Regions from separate parts of the Homo sapiens genome. Here regions 1 and 2 are each linked to region 3. The links are contacts of gene promoters, found by promoter capture Hi-C in human tissues and cell types (Jung and others, 2019). All regions are on one chromosome and are shown on one strand. The core of a region is centred on a gene start or on the middle of the fragment in contact, and the rest is flanking DNA. Distances in the headings are between cores, read along the strand shown.

What was found. Contacts are between HindIII fragments. The study calls those that stand out against the background at their distance.
Region 1: a contact is called between a fragment that was not itself captured here and the fragment with the promoter of USP8 in region 3, in 1 of the 25 tissues and cell types used here (IMR-90 fibroblasts).
Region 2: a fragment that was not itself captured here is called in contact with the fragment with the promoter of USP8 in region 3 in 1 of the 25 tissues and cell types used here (liver).

What each region holds. Positions count from the first base shown.
Region 1 is chr15:50,582,978-50,585,856 of GRCh38, forward strand. It overlaps TRPM7 (transient receptor potential cation channel subfamily M member 7), which reads right to left. Exons shown (of 39, transcript NM_017672.6): 29 at 112-182. Among named protein-coding and RNA genes, the nearest start is that of USP50, 38 kb to the left of the region's middle. The HindIII fragment of the contact is 4,205 bases long and covers 1-2,879 here.
Region 2 is chr15:50,600,808-50,603,880 of GRCh38, forward strand. The region is part of intron 21 of TRPM7 (transient receptor potential cation channel subfamily M member 7); the gene reads right to left. Among named protein-coding and RNA genes, the nearest start is that of USP50, 56 kb to the left of the region's middle. The HindIII fragment of the contact is 6,844 bases long and covers 1-3,073 here.
Region 3 is chr15:50,422,647-50,425,833 of GRCh38, forward strand. It overlaps USP8 (ubiquitin specific peptidase 8), which reads left to right and starts at 1,759. Exons shown (of 20, transcript NM_005154.5): 1 at 1,759-1,868. RefSeq lists enhancers at 582-1,578, 1,617-2,006 and a silencer at 1,457-1,506. The HindIII fragment of the contact is 18,008 bases long and covers 1-3,187 here.

The sequences.
Region 1 (2,879 bases), core at 92-2,591, 160 kb after region 3:
AAATTTTTTTGAATTTTTGATATAGTCCCAAATATCACCACTTTGTAGATCTTATCTAAAAAAGTTTAATGTATTTAATAATATATATCTGTTTAGTTGAAATCTACAAACCGGTATTAAAGCTGCTTTGGAATCTACTTCATGAGTGTCTTCGGTAGATGGCCTTCTACTGATTTTTTCTGCTAAAAGAAAATTAAAAAATATAAAAAAGCTACACAACTGAAGTTTTATGAATACCAACTAACCAAACACAAAGTATTCTAGGCACAGTATAACCTTCATAAGATAACTCAACCTTTCCTCAACACGCTGAACACAAGAGTTACATGAGGCCCATAAATTATTCAATTTATTTTGAGTAAACTATTCAATTTATTGTGAAAAGGCAACAATAAATGAGAGTATGAAGTAAAAAAAAATTTCTCCCCCTCCTGTTCCCAATCACCCTGACTGGGGACAGTAAAGGTAATTCATTTCTTGCATATTCTTCCTGGGATATTTGTATGTGTATACACATACCCCCGCCAATATTTAACATAAATGGTAGAGAAACATATATGTCTGGAGGGTTTTGTTATTTTAAACTTTAAGCTTAGAGTTTTGTTTTTTTTTTTTTGAGACAGAGTTTCACTCTTGTTGCCCAGGCTGGAGAGCAGTGGCACAATCTCAGCTCACCACAACCTCTGCCTCCTGAGTTCAAGCGATTCTCCTGCCTCAGCCTCCCTAGTAGCTGGCATTACAGGCATGTGCCACCATGCCCGGCTAATTTTGTTTTCAGTAGAGACTGGGTTTCTCCTTGTTGTTCAGGCTGGTCTCAAACTCCTGACCTCAGGTGATCCACCCGCCTCAACCTCCCAAAGTACTGGGATTACAGGTGTGAGCCACTGCGCCTAGCCAGCTTAGAGATTTTCTACAGAACAGAGAAGATTTCCCAATTATCTTTCGATGCTCTCTTTATTTCATATTGGATACACATTAATGTATTTAAACAAACTCCTACTGATGGAAATTTGATCTGTTTCCAATCTCTTCCTATGATAAACAGTGCCGCAATGAATAATCCTTTTCCCCAATTTATGATAATACCTTTGTTGTCATATCTTATTTATCCGAAATGAACTTTAGAATTAAGCCTACTTCCAAAAAAAGTCAGGTCATTAAGTTACAAATCAACTTAGAGAAAGCTTACAATTTTACAGTACAACAAAGGATAACCTCAGAATGAAGAAAGGAAAATCTCAGAACAAAATTTGTATTCCAGGTGTAGAGGACAAAAAGACCAGACTGAGATATATTAGAAGACTCTGGGCAAAATGTTTTCAATATGATGAAACTGACAGAATACATTATATTCTGAATATCATGAAGAAATCTGGTTAAATACCAGAGAACCTAGAGTGTTGATTTAACCAAAACTGTAACTATACTTGGTGGAAAAGGGTGAACAGGTGTGTGTGTGTATGTTCGTTCTGGGAATACAGAGTGAGAAAAGAGAGTTCAATTCTTGTCTTCTTTAGTGGAAGGTCAACAGATACGGCCTAAAACTGAAATATGAGGATGCTGCAATACAGGTAGGTTTGAGTATTTCTAGTGATCACTTACTAGAAATGCTTGGGATCAGAAGTGTTTCAGATTTCTGTTTTTTTTTTTTTTTTTAAATTTTGGAATATTTGCATTATACTCACCCAGGTGAGCATCTGAAAATCTGAAATCTGAAACGCTCCAATGAGCATTTCCTTTCAGTCAGTACTCAAAAATTTTGGATTTAGGAGCATTTTAGATTTTGGGATGTTCAATCCATATAAGCATACTAACTTAGGAATAACATCTATGTTAACTTAAATACTGAGAATTCTTTTTCTTCCCTCCTAATCCTTCTACCATTTCTTTCTCTTTTTCTTTTTTGTTTGAGATGGAGTCTCGCTCCCATTCCCATTGCACAGGCTGGAGTGCAGTCGCGCTATCTTGGCTCACTGCAACCTCCATCTCCTGGGTTCAAGCGATTCTTCTTCCTCAGCCTCCCGAGTAGCTGGGATTACAGACGTGCGCCACCACATCTAGCTAATTTTTGTATTTTTTTTTTTTTTTTTTTTTTGAGACGGAGTCTCGCTCTGTCGCCCAGGCCGGACTGCAGACTGCAGTGGCGCAATCTCGGCTCACTGCAAGCTCCGCTTCCCGGGTTCACGCCATTCTCCTGCCTCAGCCTCCCGAGTAGCTGGGACTACAGGCGCCCGCCACCGCGCCCGGCTAATTTTTTGTATTTTTAGTAGAGACGGGGTTTCACCTTGTTAACCAGGATGGTCTTGAACTCCTGACCTCAGGTGATCCACCTGCCTCGGCCTCCCAAAGTGCTAGGATTACAGGCGTAAGCCACCTGGCCCACTCTACCATTTATTTTACTTGCTTTACTGCTCTGGCTAGAATGTAAAACAGAAACAGTAACAGTCAAAATCCTTGTCTTGCTCCCCATCTTGGGCTTTCAATAGTTCACTATGAAGTTTGATGCTTTGTGATAATTTTTTGTTGATATCCTTTTTGAGATTAAGAATGAATACTGAATGTTAACCAAATCAGCTGTTAAGATGATCTCATGATTTTTCTCCTTTAATCTGCTACTATCATGCATTATCACAATTATATTTTTGAATGTTAAGACAACTTTTATTCCTGGAATAAACCCAATTTGGTCATAATATGCATTGCTGAATTCAGTATGCCAAAGGAAAATGAAAGTGATGGTGAGATGGACAATGTAGTACTATTTTTCTTAAGGAACCTTTATAATTATTCAACTTTTCAACGATGTGCATATATAATCTTGACTTATAAAAAATTATGATATGGAAACATCACCACAATATAGTAAATGAGAAATTAAT
Region 2 (3,073 bases), core at 290-2,789, 180 kb after region 3:
ATGAAGAGATGAGACTTGATGCTTCATCTTTAAAATTCTGTTAGATGAACAAATAAATTTTCTTTTTAAATTAAGAGCTGGCTCTCTGCAACTTGCAGAGGCCTAACACGCTCCAAAATTCTTAATTGGGTGTTCTTATTTGCAAAATGGACAAATAATGCCTTCATTGAGCATTTGAGAACAGTACTGAGAGAATGCATGCTTTCAAATAAACAAAATATTGCAAAACAAAAAGTATATTAAAAGATTTTAAAAGGCAAAAAAAGTATTAAAACATTATTCATGCTATTTGATATATTTTAGAATACAAATGCTTGTAATTAAAGGAAAAGCCAAGTCAAATATTCCAAATGAAACGCAAATCTGTATTGACGTAAACTAAAATTATTCAAGGTCTATGGTTGATGATTCATAGTCATCTTTGCATTTCACACAGCTTTTCACATAAAGCCTAAATGACAACCACTTTCCTTGTGCTTGATAGGAATTTAATTAATTAAAAATATGTGAGTATCAGCTTGCTCATAAAAATGAGGATTCTTAAAGTAAAATTTTACTGGGCACGGTGGCTCACGCCTGTAATCCCAGCACTTTGGGAGGCCGAGGCAGGCGGATCACAAGGTCAGGGGTGTGAGACCAGCCTGGCCAATATGGTGAAACCCTGTCTCCACTAAAAATACAAAAATTAGCCGGGCATGGTGGCGCACACCTGTAGTCCCAGCTACTCGGGAGGCTGAGGCAGAAGAATCGCTTGAATCCAGGAGGTGGAGGTTGCAGTGAGCACAGATCGCGCCACTGAACTCCAGCCTGGGTGACACAGCGAGACTCCATCTTAAAAAATAAAATAAAATAAAGTAAAATTTTTAAAAATGAGGATTCTTATAATGCATACAGAATGAGTGTGAGAAGTTTAGCATTTACCATATAATTTTCATTAGTCTGCTATTAAAAGATGTATTAGGTTGATGCAAAAGTAATTGCAGTTTTTGCAATTACTTTTAATGGCAAAAACCGCAATTACTTTTGCACTAGCCTATAAAGTGTGAGGGAGGTTTCTTCTTTTTAATCTTTTATTGTCTTCAAGCTTTTCAAAGCTGTTTCCTCTGGTTAGAAACTCCCTGCTCAGAAGAAAAATCCCACATATTTTCTTTTTTTTTTTTTTAATGATTATACTTTAAGTTCTAGGGTAAAGAAATACCATTTGACCCAGCAATCCCATTACTGGGTATATACCCAAAGGATTATAAATCATGCTACTATAAAGACACATGCACACGTATGTTTACTGTGGCACTATTCACAATAGCAAAGACTTGGAACCAACCCAAATGTCCGTCAATGATAGACTGGATTAAGAAAATGTGGCACATATACACCATGGAATACTATGTAGCCATAAAAAAGGATGAGTTCATGTTCTTTGCAGGAACATGGATGCAGCTGGAAACCATCATTCTGAGCAAACTATTGCAAGGACAGAAAACCAAACACCGCATGTTCTCACTCACAGGTGGGAACTGAACAACGAGAACACTTGGACACAGGGTAGGGAACATCATACACCGGGGCCTGTCATGGGGTAGGGGGCAGGGGGAGGGATAGCATTAGGATAAATACCTAATGTAAATGATGAGTTAATGGGTGCAGCAAACCAACATGGTGCATGTATACCTATGTAAATCCTACGTATTTTCTAAACTCCTTTGAAATGCCATAATCTTTGTGAAAGCCTTCATGACAGAATTGGTTACTAGCTCTTCTATCTTCACGTAACAATTTATCATATTTTTCAATAGCTACCTATCTGTTCACATGTCTATATTTAGAGACTCAATTGTTGAGTTCCACGAAGATCTGGACCATGTCTTATTCATCTTTGTAGCCCCAGCTTAGTTTAACTCTTAACATGTAATAGATACACAATGACGAAATAATGAATGTTAGAACTAAAACAGTAACCATTATGAAACTTCCAAAGGGGATGTAAAGGGAAGCTGGCACTAGGGAAAACACACAATGACGGAACAAATGACTAGCTGACAAGGAGAAAGACATCCTAGCAGAGGGTGGTTCTAGAGAAGATCACAAATAAAGGCTTCTGTACTTCCTAACTCTTCCATTTACATTACCATTAAAGTAACTAGACACCACTGAGTCACTAAATAACCTGGTAAGCATAAGAGCTACAACACCTTTTTTGCATGCTAAAATGTTAGGCTAAAACCAATTCTTCCCAAAAAACCTTAACTGCCCTATTTTTCCTTGAAATACCATAAGAATGCCAAAATGTGTGAATAATGAGTAATACTTTGATGTGAAAAACAGTACACCAGTTATTCTCAATTAAGGGGGGGAAGACACATTCTCTTGGAGGGAAACAGTGCAGCGTGAAAGTGCAAATATAATAATTTATATTTAGAAAACCTAAAAATCTTGTTTTCAAGATGCGAAGATAATCTTGTGAGCTTAGCAGGGTTACTCAAGAAATATTTAATTTAGAAGACTGATTTTTTTTTTTAATTATTATACTTTAAGTTCTAGGGTACATGTGCACAATGTGCAGGTTTGTTACATATGTATACATGTGCCATGTTGGTGTGCTGCACTCATTTACATTAGGTATATCTCCTAATGCTATCCCTCCCCCTGCCCCCCACCCCATGACAGGCCCCAGCGTGTGATGTTCCCCATTCCCCACCGTGTGTCCAAGTGTTCTCATTGTTCAATTCCCACCTATGAGTGAGAACATGCGGTGTTTGGTTTTCTGTCCTTGCAATAGTTTGCTCAGAATGATGGTTTCCAGCTTCATCCATGTCCCTACAAAGGACATGAACTCATCCTTTTTTGTGGCTGCACAGTATTCCATGGTGTATACGTGCCGCATTTTCTTAATCCAGTCTATCATTGATGGACATTTGGGTTGGTTCCAAGAGAAGACTGATTTTCTAAGATTAAGGGAGTATAAGAAACTCTAAGAATAGCTTTTTATATTTATTAAAATGGGACAACTATTTTAAAATAATTGAGAAACAGCATGTATTTTTAAAGCATATTTTGATAAAACTACTGTATA
Region 3 (3,187 bases), core at 509-3,008:
TTTTGACTTAGTTTGGATAAAGAAGGGTAGTTAAGCTGTCCTTATGTCTCTTACCAAATGGAGAAAATACTGCTGTAGTTCACAGCAATTTGGGGAGTTTTAGATTCTATGGAAAATGGAAATCCTATTTGTAACTTAGATTTTTTCTTTGGAGAAGGAGTCTCGCTCTGTTGCCCAGGCTGGAGTGCAGTGGCACGATCTCGGCTCACTGCAACCTCCACCTTCCAGGTTCAAGCGATTCACTGACTCAGCCTCCTCAGTAGCTGGGATTACAGGCACGCGCCACCATGCCCAGCTAATGTTTGTATTTTTAGTAGAGACCAGGTTTTGCCATTTTGGCCAGGCTGGTCTCAAACTCCTGACCTCAAGTGATCTGCCCACCTTGGCCTCCCAAAGTGCTGGGATTACAGGCGTGAGCTACCGCTCCCGGTCTAATTTTTAAATTTTTGTTTTGTAGAGATGAGGGTCTCCCTTTGTTGCTCAAGCTGGTCTCTGTCTCTTGGGATCAAGGGATCCTCCTGCCTCAGCCTCCCAAAGTGCTGGGATTACAGGCCTGGGCCACTGCAACCTGGCCTTCATCACAAATTCATTGAACACACTTTCTTTATTTTATCCTTTTTTATTTTTAAAAATTTTTATTTCAGTAGTTTTGGAGGAACAGGTTGCATGGAAAAGTTCTTTAGTGGTCATTTCTGAGATTTTGGTGCACCCATCACCCGAGCAGTGTACACTGTACCATGTGGCACACACTTTCACTTAAAGCATTTACTAGACCTCGCTAGCCAGATTTCCCATCCCTGAGACACCTGGAATGTTCCTGAGGACTTAGTGACTACTGCCTAAAGCTCCACCCAAGTCAATTTTATGTTTACAGGCAACCGGAGCATCCAATCACCTTTCTCTAAGAGAGTACAAAGATCAGCTCGCGAGAAAGTTCAGACGTCTCATTTCGTTTCTATTACACGGGGCCTTCGCCCAACCAGACGGAGTCTTGCTCTGCTGCCCAGGCTGGAGTGCAGTAGCGCGATCTCGGCTCATTGCAACCTTCGCTCCCCGGGTTTAAGCAATTCTCCTGCCTCAGCCACTGGAGTAGCTAGGATTACAGGCGCACGCCACCACGCCAAGCTAATTTTTTGTATTCTTAATAGAGACGGGGGTTTCACCATGTTGGCCAGGCTGGTCTCGAACTCCTGACCTCATCATTTGCCCGCCTCGGCCTCCCAAAGCGCTGGGATTACAGGCGTGAGCCACCGTGCCCAGCCTCGCCGGGGCCTTTTAAGTGACGTTAAAAATTGTACATAAAATATGTTTTAGGATAATACTTGTTTTTCTTTGACCAAAGGCTTGGCTTCAGAGAATGTTTAGCCAGAAATAGAGGGGCGTTAAATCCCCTTTTTTCTAATTTCCAATCTGAGGAGGAAAATAACGTAGTAAAGGGACGCAAGAGCAACCTTGCTTCTTCCACAACAAGGCCCAGGCGCCGCCTTGCAACCCGGAAATGCAGGGTGCAGTGCGGGGGGTAAGGGACCGGCCAACTATGTTGACCCGACTCAGAGAAACCCCGCCCTTGCCGCCACCGCCCACCCATAACGTCCTCCTCGACCCTCCCTCGACCATCCCTCGCCCCGCGGCCCTCACCGAAAAGGGGAGGGCGGTGGAAGAGAGAGGAGTCAAGGGAGCGCACGCGAAGCCCCGCCCCTGCCGTGACGTCTGGAGACGCGACGCGTCGCCTCGCAATGCAAATCGGGAAAAGGGGGTGAGCTGGGCTGGCTTCCGTCCTGGTAGCCAAGGCTAATTCTCCCTCGAGTTCTTGGGAGATGGGCATTTGGCGAGAAGGCTGGCGTTAGTGAAGCGCGCCCGGCGTCACGGTGAGTGCGGGTCTTGGGCCCTAGCACCTGTTCTCTGGGAAGTCGTCCGCTGTGAACGATGAACGCCTTTCCTTCCACCAGCTGCTGGTTACCCCGGAGACAAGCTCTGTCCGCGGAGAGGAGTGGGACAACTCCTAAAGGTAGAATCAGCTTGTGGAGAGGAAAGGCCCAACCTTGAGTCTTTTACGCCATCTACCTAGGATTGCCAAGCGAGTTTCGTGTGTTTTTTTGGTTTTAAAAGGTGGCTTTGACCAATCTTCCGTTCTCTTGGACACTTATACCCGACTTTGACCTCTTTCCTCTTGCTTCCGGTTTTTTTTTTTTTCTGCAATCTGCCTACAATCCCAGGCCTTACTGTAGCTCCTAAAACTGTTTCCCAGTTTCTCTTCTTCCCCAGTCACACTTGATTTTAGTGAAGTTTGAGTTTAAAGACCCTATAAGCTTGTCAGAGTTAAAACTATGACTTCCTCAAATAGAAGATTTTTTTTTTTTCCCCTAAAAAGTGCCTTCCATCCTAGAGTTGTGGGACAAGTTAATTTCACCGCCACTCCACCTTGGAAATTATCAGAATCCTTACTAGCAGTGATGTGCATTATAAAGCTGCAGACCACCCTCCTGGGTTTATTTCTTGCCTCCAGTTCATTCTGTGACCTTGAACAAGTCACTTAATCACTAACAAAAAATTTACCTGACACGGAGGTGTTGCAGAGCCTAAGGAATTTAGTATTTGTTAAGAGACCTGAGGGTTTCAGATGAAAGGGATTTATATCTAAAGGATGTTACCTTTTCTGAATCTGCAAAGCATCGTTAGTTTTGTAAATATCTTGCTGCAGCCATTAAAAATGCCAAGTGGTATTTGTTAAGGAAGTATTCCTGTTTTAGGCTTGCTCTGCTGCGGCTTTGCTATGTAAGCAGATTTTTGCATTTCAGCCGATTCTGTTTAAGATTCGTTGGTGAATGTCATTCATGATGGATTTGGGTAGTTTCTCCTTACAGCATATCCCTGGACTATTAAGCATATCTGGAAGGTGATATCGGTTGTGTTATGTCTTTATCATGTTGATATGGCTGCTTTGAAATATGTATTCCTTTTCTTGTGACACATTGGATGCATCTTTAATATTAGTGAAGACCCTGTAGTAGTTTAAAAAAAAAATACACCTCTCATTAATGAAATTTTGCACATAGACATCTGTTTTTTTAAGAAAACAATGTATAAGAAAAACTAACAAAAATGTTTTAAAGGTGCCTTTTTTAGCATTTCGTTTTTTAATATATTTACTTGGACTTTAATCTTTATGGGCATTTGTTTATTAATG